Linked DNA regions of Homo sapiens: region 1 is linked to region 2. The links are contacts of gene promoters, found by promoter capture Hi-C in blood cells and fetal thymus (Javierre and others, 2016). All regions are on one chromosome and are shown on one strand. The core of a region is centred on a gene start or on the middle of the fragment in contact, and the rest is flanking DNA. Distances in the headings are between cores, read along the strand shown.

The links. The method cuts DNA at HindIII sites, captures the fragments that hold promoters and counts their contacts. A CHiCAGO score of 5 or more calls a contact.
Region 1: a fragment that was not itself captured here is called in contact with the fragment with the promoter of ONECUT1 in region 2 in 1 of 17 cell types (megakaryocytes); the score reaches 7.6 in megakaryocytes.

The regions. Positions count from the first base shown.
Region 1 is chr15:53,709,606-53,714,489 of GRCh38, reverse strand. It overlaps WDR72 (WD repeat domain 72), which reads left to right. Exons shown (of 20, transcript NM_182758.4): 6 at 1-56; 7 at 1,599-1,718; 8 at 3,009-3,154; 9 at 3,537-3,633. Among named protein-coding and RNA genes, the nearest start is that of WDR72, 48 kb to the left of the region's middle. The HindIII fragment of the contact is 5,149 bases long and covers 1-4,884 here.
Region 2 is chr15:52,787,566-52,791,999 of GRCh38, reverse strand. ONECUT1 (one cut homeobox 1) reads left to right here and starts at 1,664. Exons shown (of 2, transcript NM_004498.4): 1 at 1,664-3,220. The coding sequence starts at 2,116. It overlaps LOC105370824 (a long non-coding RNA gene), which reads right to left and starts at 1,570. Exons shown (of 2, transcript XR_001751550.2): 1 at 1-1,570. RefSeq lists enhancers at 1-608, 609-1,377, 1,374-1,668 and a silencer at 1,557-1,626. The HindIII fragment of the contact is 8,870 bases long and covers 1,207-4,434 here.

The DNA.
Region 1 (4,884 bases), core at 1,278-3,777, 920 kb before region 2:
CAGTAGCTGGTGAGCTCAAAGTATGGGATCTTTCCTCATCTATCAACAGCATTCAGGTTGGCTTGGGAACCCTACTCTTTTTTCCTTACAATTTCAAGCATATTCATTAAAATTTATAAATTTTAAGGCTATTACATGTTTATTGTCAAAAGTTCAAATAACATAGAAGTGTATAAATTCTACTTCCATATATTTCCCCCATCCATCTTCCCAGGGGTGAGCCTTGGTACACTTGGCTTGTATCCTTCCAACCTTTTCTCCATGTATATACAAATGTTTTCATTTACACACACACACACACACACACAGAAAGATTACATTTTTAATCTTTTAAAAAATAGAACATCTCTCTGTTCGTTACAGAGGAAATCCCCCTTTTTTCTGAGTATATGTGAACAGTGGCAAGCAAATGACCCTAAAAACTTGAGGGGCATGTCCCTGGGGAGTCCAGTATATTCATCTATTCACTGGCATCAGGCTACAAGTTGAGATGATGGACAAAAGAACAGCCATACTATGTGTGTTGATGACAAAATTATTTAGGCTTCCCCAAGGAGTTCTGGGGTCTTTTTAGGAATTTATTGGTTGAGGAAGCCTAGGAATTGTGATGGTATGCTGAGCTTAAGAAATACACATCCAGCATTTTCACAAACTTATTGAGAACGTACTATTCTATGTGCTGTGTGTTGGCACTTTGTTCATTTTTTTTCTGTTTAAGCAATCAAAATACTAGGCCATGCACAGTGGCTCACGCCTGTAATCCCAGCACTTTGGGAGGCTAAGGCGAGCGGATCACCAGAGGTCAGGAGTTCAAGACTAGCCTGTCCAACATGGTGAAACCTCGTCTCTACTAAAAATACAAAAAAAAAAATTTAGCAGGGAGTGGTGGAGTGCACCTGTAATCCTAGCTACTCAGGAGGCTGAGGCAGGAGAATCGTTTGAACCCGGGAGGCGGGGGTTGCAGTGAGCCGAGATCCTGCCACTGCACTCCATCCTTGGCGACACAGCAAGACTGTGTCTCAAGGAAAAAATAAAATAAAATAAAATAAAATAAAATAAAATAAAATAAAATAAAATACAACAAAATAAAATAAAATAAAATACTGTAGGTTTTTTTAGTCATCATTTTAGATTTTTTTGTTTGACCTTTCTGCCATATCTAACAGTCTGTAGCTTATTCTCATCTTGACATTCTCAGCATCCAGCCGTAGTTCCCCAAAGAATGTTTGTTGAATGGTTGCATGTAATGAGCCCTTGAATCTAAGTGGATTTCCTGATCACAGCTTTTTTTTTTTTTCAAGAAATACATCCTATATTTTTTAATTTTTTTTTTTTTAAACTTTCAGGAGTACATACGCAGGTTTGTTATACAGGTAAATTAAGTGTTGTGGGGGTTGGGTGTACAGATTATTTCATCACCCAGGTACACAGCTTCTATTGCCAAGTAACTTCTTAGTTCAAAACACTCAAAAGGTAACTCAGATACTTTTCGTTTTATAATGGTGTGATCTACTTGAGATGTACGGGAAGCAGGTCTTCTCATGGCTGTGTATGAATTACCTGGAACTAGTACTAAAAGATTTTCTTTCCTTTTGAAGGAAAAGCAAGATGTCTATGAAAAAGAATCCAAGTTTCTTGAGTCCTTGAACTGCCAGACAATTCGATTTTGCACATATACTGAGAGACTTCTATTGGTGGTATTTTCTAAATGTTGGAAGGTATTATAAAGTAACATAATAAATACCAGTGATGTACAAGTGTAATTTTTTTTGTTTTGTACAAAAATAAGAATATGATTTAAATATGATACAAATTCTCTGTAATAGTATTACCAGAACATGGAATGATGTGTCTTTTATGACTGACGTAACAGTTTTTTTTTTTGGCGGTGGGGTGGTTGACAGTCTCACTCTGTTTCCCAGGCTGGAGTGCAGCGGCACGATCTCAGCTCACTGCAACCTCCACCCCCCAGGTTCAAGCAGTTCTCCTGCCTCAGCCTCCTAGTAGCTGGGATTATAGGCGCATGCCACCATGCCCGGCTAAGTTTTGTATTTTTAGGAGAGACCGGGTTTCACCATGTTGGTCAGGCCGATCTCAAACTCCTGACCTCGTGATCTGCCCACCTCAGACTCCCAAAGTGCTGGGATTACAGGCGTGAGCCACTGGACACGGCCTGACATATCAGTTTTTAACTCTCTAATTAATAAAATTAGGATATACTACTACATATTTAATATCATGGTATATGCAACAGTTTTGTATCCCAAGATATTATATATGTAGTAGCATATCCTAATTTTAGTAACAAACCATAATAACAATGAATATTTAGCTCTAAATTGTTTTCAAAATTTGGTGTTTACATTTCAGAACTAAAAATATACTTTTCACCTACATAGTTTGATTATATTTTTAGATGTTTTACTTTTTCTACTTTGTCACTACATTTGTTTTAAGAGGGACAAACGTTATTTTCTTGTGAATATGTTCGCTGACATTTCCAAGAAGAAAGAAAAGCTAAGTTGCCATCATTTCATAACATTTATTTTTCTTTAAAGTTTTTTATAACTGGCTCAGTTAACAAAACTATACAGTCTTACTTGTGTGGTGATAATGTATTTTTGAACAAAGATTTAAAAGTATATGGTCTAGCAAAAGATTTACGTGATATATATTTTTTATGTGCATAATACATTTTCAAATGTAAAACTTGGAGTACTCATTATGGAAAGAATAAAATTACTTAGAAATTTTGGGATTTGGGGTTTCTATGTTTAGTGTACACACTCTGGAATGATATAACCAGATGAACTGTATCCCCTGAAACCTACCCTAAGATAAATATAAGTCAATAAGTCATGGTAAAATATCATCTTAATATGAGAGTACAGTATGGTCTGTTATTAACGCTTACTATGTTGTTATATTATTACTATCATAATTTATATTCATCTTATTGGCAGACTAGATTTAAGCCTTTGATAATGTGCATCAACTTCATATTTTAGGTTTATGATTATTGTGATTTTTCCCTTCTGCTGACTGAAGTTAGTAGAAATGGGCAGTTCTTTGCTGGTGGAGAAGTGATTGCTGCTCACAGAATCCTCATCTGGACAGAAGATGGTCACAGTTACATCTATCAGCTGCTGAACAGGTGGGCTCAGATGGGAGCGGCATACAAAACATTCAGGTAGAAAATGAACTTTGGGAGGTTTATTATGGAAAAATCCCTGCATGCTGCCCATGATCAAAAACCAGAACAAAACAACTTTGGCACTAGAAGATTTACTCTGGGCTTGGTAGGCTTCAGCCTTTGTACAAAACAGCAGGGGATGGAGGAATGAGATTAACCATGTATAACTTGTACAGCTGGTGCTGGGTTTTCAAAAAGTCACTTGTAATTATTAACCCAACAATTTCTAACTAGAGTTTAGAAACTTGAACGGTACCATCCGGCTTTTGAAAGTGGGAGGGGGAAAAAAAACGAATAAAGAACCTCAAAGTTCTAAACTTTGCTTTTTATTTTTGCCACGCAGTGGGCTTTCAAAAAGCATATACCCTGCTGATGGAAGAGTGCTTAAAGAGACCATTTATCCTCATTTACTGTGCTCTACTTCTGTGCAGGAAAATAAGGTAATGCAAGAAAAGAGTGACTGCCTCAAAGCTGTTTCACTCAGTTTCTTGGATAAGTGTTGCTTTGTCTGTCACAGAATCAGGCTTGAAAAAATTGAATTGAAGCATCCCATCAAGTTGTTAATGAGAAAATCAAGTTTAATTATCAATGGCTACCAAAGAGAAAACTTTGTCTTTAAAAATCTGCTATGTTTAAGTCTGTATTTTAAGTTTATAATGAAACAATATGTATTTATTATAGGAAAATTATAAATGTTAAAAAGAAAGGAGAAATTAAAATTCCTAATTTCACCGCAGTACATATTCACTGAGATTTTTTTTTACTTTGTTGTATGTATTTACCTATTTTGATTGGAAAATTTTCAAATAATTGGAAAAGTTTCAAGAGTAGTGTAGTAATTATTCATATACGTTTTACTTAGATTCACCAATTGCTAACATTTTGCTATATTTACTTTCTCATTCTCTGTCTCTCTCTCTGCATTTGTGTGTGTGTGTGTGTATACGTACAAACACATACACACACACCACACATTTTTTCACTGACCCTTGTGATAAATGGTGTGACAAAACATTGTTAACATTTTTACGTATCTACTCCAATTTTTAAACTTTATGAAATGTTTTATGTTCTGTTTCTTTAATCATATATTGATATCATTTTCAGATGTATTTAGCTATTCTTACGAATAAATTTTCTTGTTAAAACAAATATAATTATGCTTTTGGCAGAGAGTTGAGAATATAAATGTGAGCTTATTACTTGACTGAATCATACCTCTGACATTCTAGGAAGCCTGAAAATTTAAGCAGTTGTTTTCTTTCAGTAGTGTTATCCAAAGTGTTTCTTTTCCCTGAGCCTTTGGACTTTGTCATCAGTTAATTATCCATAAACGTTATTTCATGGAGAGTGGAAGAGTTTTGAATTATTGATGTGTCAACCAAGGAAGCATGCTACTTTTAACAGAATGATGGTTTGCTTAATTAGGCAGCATAGCTGTTGGAAATCCTATAGTTCAGTGATTGTCCCTTTAACATATCTGTGAGGTTTTGTTGTGAAAACTTGATTAAGAAACTGTCAGCCAAAAATTAGAACCCCAAGTGCCACTGGGACACAAGCAAACTTTATAATTACGGCATGCATCAACCACTATTTCTAAAATTATTTGTGGGCAGTAATAGGTTCCTGTTTTGCTGTCGATCACAAAAACAGTATTGGGGCTTACTCAGAAAAGCATATTCAGTTATTTT
Region 2 (4,434 bases), core at 415-2,914:
ACTTGACCTACCTGGATTAGGATGTTGCCCTGGTGGTAGCAGGGACCTGGGCAAAGAGATAGGCCTACTCATGCCTGGGCCGGTGGGAACTTTTCCCAAAGGGTTGGCCAGCCCAAACTTTTGCCTTGGAAACCCAACTACCACCACTACCACAGCCTTGGCCTCTCTAAGGGCTTGGGAGCATTTGCAGTGGAAACACCACGGGTGGGCTGCAGTTCGGTGCCCCAGCAAGCAAACCTACAGTCTGAGTCTGGCCCAGCACAGGCTACACACACTTTATTCCATATCTGAGTCCAGATACCCCGGCTCTGAGAGGCTATTCTCATTGTAACCACCGCTTGCCTGGGGCTGAGGCTCGGCGCTGACCCGGCCATAACTGCCACGGGCTGGACAATGGGCACATCTGTCCTTTCTCTGAGGGATGAAAGCACCTAAGCGGACACGGCTCTGCCTTTTGTTGCGGATTTTTTTTCTTTCTTTTGTAAATGAAAGAAAGCCGCGGCATGTGGCGGCCGGGTGTACGTCTCAAACTGGGGGCCTCCGCACACGTCCCCACCAGGCCCAAAGACCAGGTTCGATTCCAGATTGGAGCGTGACTGTGGGAAGGGCGAAATTACTCCCGAAGCTGAATTGATTTTCAAATCTGGAGGCGTCTCTCGGGGACGCCGGGAAAAGGGCGTCCCTAGGGGCCAAGCGGAGACCCGCGCGCCGGCGTCCACCCTGTCTGCGTCAGTACTTCTGGAAAGCAACCGCCTCCGGGTGCTTTAGCAGGAGGGCCTTGGGAGTAACCGCAGGGACGGCCCGAGCCTCCACGGCCCCACCAGCACCCGGAAGTTAACATGGGTACCCTCCAGGGCACTCCCTCCGCTCTCCCTCGCCCCCCTCCACAGGCCGAGTCATCGGCGAAGCGGACGCACAGCCTTAATTATGAGCTGAGCGGGAGAAGGAGCCAGGCGGCGGGGGACAGTGAGGTATGGCCCGAACTGGGATTCTTGGCACTGATTACTCCTCTCCCCAGGGCATGGATGAGAAAGGGTGGGCAAGTATGTATCTGGGAGGACGAAGGGTGCCGGGTCAACGGCCGCCAAACGGACCCAGCCCTTTAAGCAATCTGCACCCCACCCCACCCCAACCCCCATCCCCCAATAGGCCGTGAATTCAAGGGTGGGAAAGCGCACTCCCAGCAGCCCCCCGGGAAATAAAGCTTAGTGGGCTAGAGCCGAAGGGGTGATGACACAGTCCCCAGCTCCCCGGGCAAGCTGCACCGGGAAGCAGCAACTGGAGAGAGAGGGGCGATGTCTCCAAGCACAGCACTCCAGCCGCTAGAAGCCCGACACGAGCGTCCCCGGGCTGGGAGGACAGAGCCCACTCAAGCAAGGGAGGCGAGCGAGCCAGGCGCGAGTCTCCTGGGATTGCAGCGGCGGCCCCAGGTCGCGCTCTGCGCCAATCTTTCGCACGTGCCCGCAGCTCCCTGGCCATCCAGCGCCGCAGGGAAGGCGCTGGGCCCCCTCCTTCATTTGTACCGGGACGCCAAGGGCCTGGCGCGCCGCGACCTAGGGGGCGGGGGCGGGCCTCGCGCATGCGCGCTGCGCCTGGCGGGCGTGAGGGCGGGCCGCTGCGGCGGCGGCGGCGGCGGCTACCGAACCGCGGCCACAGAGTCTGTAACAGTAACAGAGCCATGGCTCAAGCTGGCCAGCGGGGCGGGCAGGCAGCAGACGCGGCAGGCGCGCGGGCCGCGGCAGGGGAGCCGGAGACCTCAGAATTTTAAGAAAGAGAGGGGCGAGAGGTGGCCGAGGCGGGCGGGCTGGGGCACTGCGCTCTCCCAACGGCGCGGATCCTCTTTGGAAATTAATATTAAAAAAAAAAAAGCCGAGGACGCAGAGGGGAAGGTGGGGGGTAAGAGGGAAGGCGAGACACACACACACACACACACGCACACGCACACACGGACACACACACACGGAGAGAGAGAGAGAGAGAGACAGAGCCCCACAGTGAGAGGAAGGAAGGCAACAGTCGCCAGCAGCCGATGTGAAGACCGGACTCCGTGCGCCCCTCGCCGCCTCTGCCTGGCCACATCGATGTTGTGTCCGCCGCCTGCTCGCCCGGATCACGATGAACGCGCAGCTGACCATGGAAGCGATCGGCGAGCTGCACGGGGTGAGCCATGAGCCGGTGCCCGCCCCTGCCGACCTGCTGGGCGGCAGCCCCCACGCGCGCAGCTCCGTGGCGCACCGCGGCAGCCACCTGCCCCCCGCGCACCCGCGCTCCATGGGCATGGCGTCCCTGCTGGACGGCGGCAGCGGCGGCGGAGATTACCACCACCACCACCGGGCCCCTGAGCACAGCCTGGCCGGCCCCCTGCATCCCACCATGACCATGGCCTGCGAGACTCCCCCAGGTATGAGCATGCCCACCACCTACACCACCTTGACCCCTCTGCAGCCGCTGCCTCCCATCTCCACAGTCTCGGACAAGTTCCCCCACCATCACCACCACCACCATCACCACCACCACCCGCACCACCACCAGCGCCTGGCGGGCAACGTGAGCGGTAGCTTCACGCTCATGCGGGATGAGCGCGGGCTGGCCTCCATGAATAACCTCTATACCCCCTACCACAAGGACGTGGCCGGCATGGGCCAGAGCCTCTCGCCCCTCTCCAGCTCCGGTCTGGGCAGCATCCACAACTCCCAGCAAGGGCTCCCCCACTATGCCCACCCGGGGGCCGCCATGCCCACCGACAAGATGCTCACCCCCAACGGCTTCGAAGCCCACCACCCGGCCATGCTCGGCCGCCACGGGGAGCAGCACCTCACGCCCACCTCGGCCGGCATGGTGCCCATCAACGGCCTTCCTCCGCACCATCCCCACGCCCACCTGAACGCCCAGGGCCACGGGCAACTCCTGGGCACAGCCCGGGAGCCCAACCCTTCGGTGACCGGCGCGCAGGTCAGCAATGGAAGTAATTCAGGGCAGATGGAAGAGATCAATACCAAAGAGGTGGCGCAGCGTATCACCACCGAGCTCAAGCGCTACAGCATCCCACAGGCCATCTTCGCGCAGAGGGTGCTCTGCCGCTCCCAGGGGACCCTCTCGGACCTGCTGCGCAACCCCAAACCCTGGAGCAAACTCAAATCCGGCCGGGAGACCTTCCGGAGGATGTGGAAGTGGCTGCAGGAGCCGGAGTTCCAGCGCATGTCCGCGCTCCGCTTAGCAGGTGAGCCGGCCAAGGAGCTGGGCGCGCGGGAGATAAGGTACACGAAAGCCGAAGGGACCAAAGGAGGAAGGGTAGGAGAGAGGGCTGGGTGCGCTTCATCCCGCCCGCCCCTACCCCTAGAAGGGGGACTCCCTGTGCCTGGAAGGGCCAGCACAGGGCTGTGGGAGCAAATTGCCTACTCCAGGGCTCAGGGTGTTGGGCTGTGGAAGGCTCCGAGAGCTAAGCGGCCGGGCCTCGGCGACTGAAGAGGCTCATTTGCGCTCAGGGACAGCGAGGGAAGCTCGTACGGCCTGAGGCGGAGAGAAATCCCCGCACCTGGTGAGACACTCTGCGCCACCTCTCAGTTCAGCGATCCGGGTTTGGGAAGAGGGATGCAACGCGTGCGTGGAATCGCACGCAAATGTTCCTCGCAGGTACCTCTGACACATCCCAGGCGCTGGGCTGGAGCGTGCCGGAGCAGCGTCGATGTTTGGCCGAACTGGCTGCTGTGACCCCCTCCCGCGCTCATTCTTTTGGCGCTGGCTGGGGTGACCTCAATCTAAGAGTATGGGCAAAAAGTTTCAGAGCCATTGGGCGGTGGGTGTGTAGCACAGACGAGTTGTAAGGGTTAGGACGCTCTCTGCGCATGGAATTGGCTGTGGAAAGGAGAGGGAGGCTGACCGTCCCAAGGTCCCAGTGAGAGCTGCAAAGCAATAGCCATGTCCTGGGACCGACTCCGCTGCCGACTCCCTGAGGACTTTGCATTTTGTTTTATTATTCCTCTTCGCGATTTTCGTCTGAATCCCCGTGCGGGAGGGGGGTTTGGGGATGAGAGTGTGTAAATGACCCCCAAGTCTAGGAGCAGAGGTCTCCTGCCCGAAACCCCAAGCCCCAGGTGTTTCTGAGTTCAGCTGGAAGCTCTCCTTGGCGCAGCGCAGACACCGCGCCTGGCTCCCCGAGACCGCGGATAGGCAGAGAAGAAAGCTGAGCCCAGCCCGAACCCCACCGGGGATTTCAGGAGGATTCGGCGACCCTTGAGGGTAGAGAACATGAGGGGAGGTAGAGCTAAGGACAGCGGAGGGTGGCCTGGGTTTGATGAGATCCGGCCGGCGGTTGCCAAGTTGATTGACTCCTGGTCCATGCCCCCTCCCCCCCCACTCCCCCACCCCCCACCTCCACCTCCATCTCAGCCCAGCGCCCAGGCCTGAGCCTTGGCGAAGAGAAAAGGTAAAAGC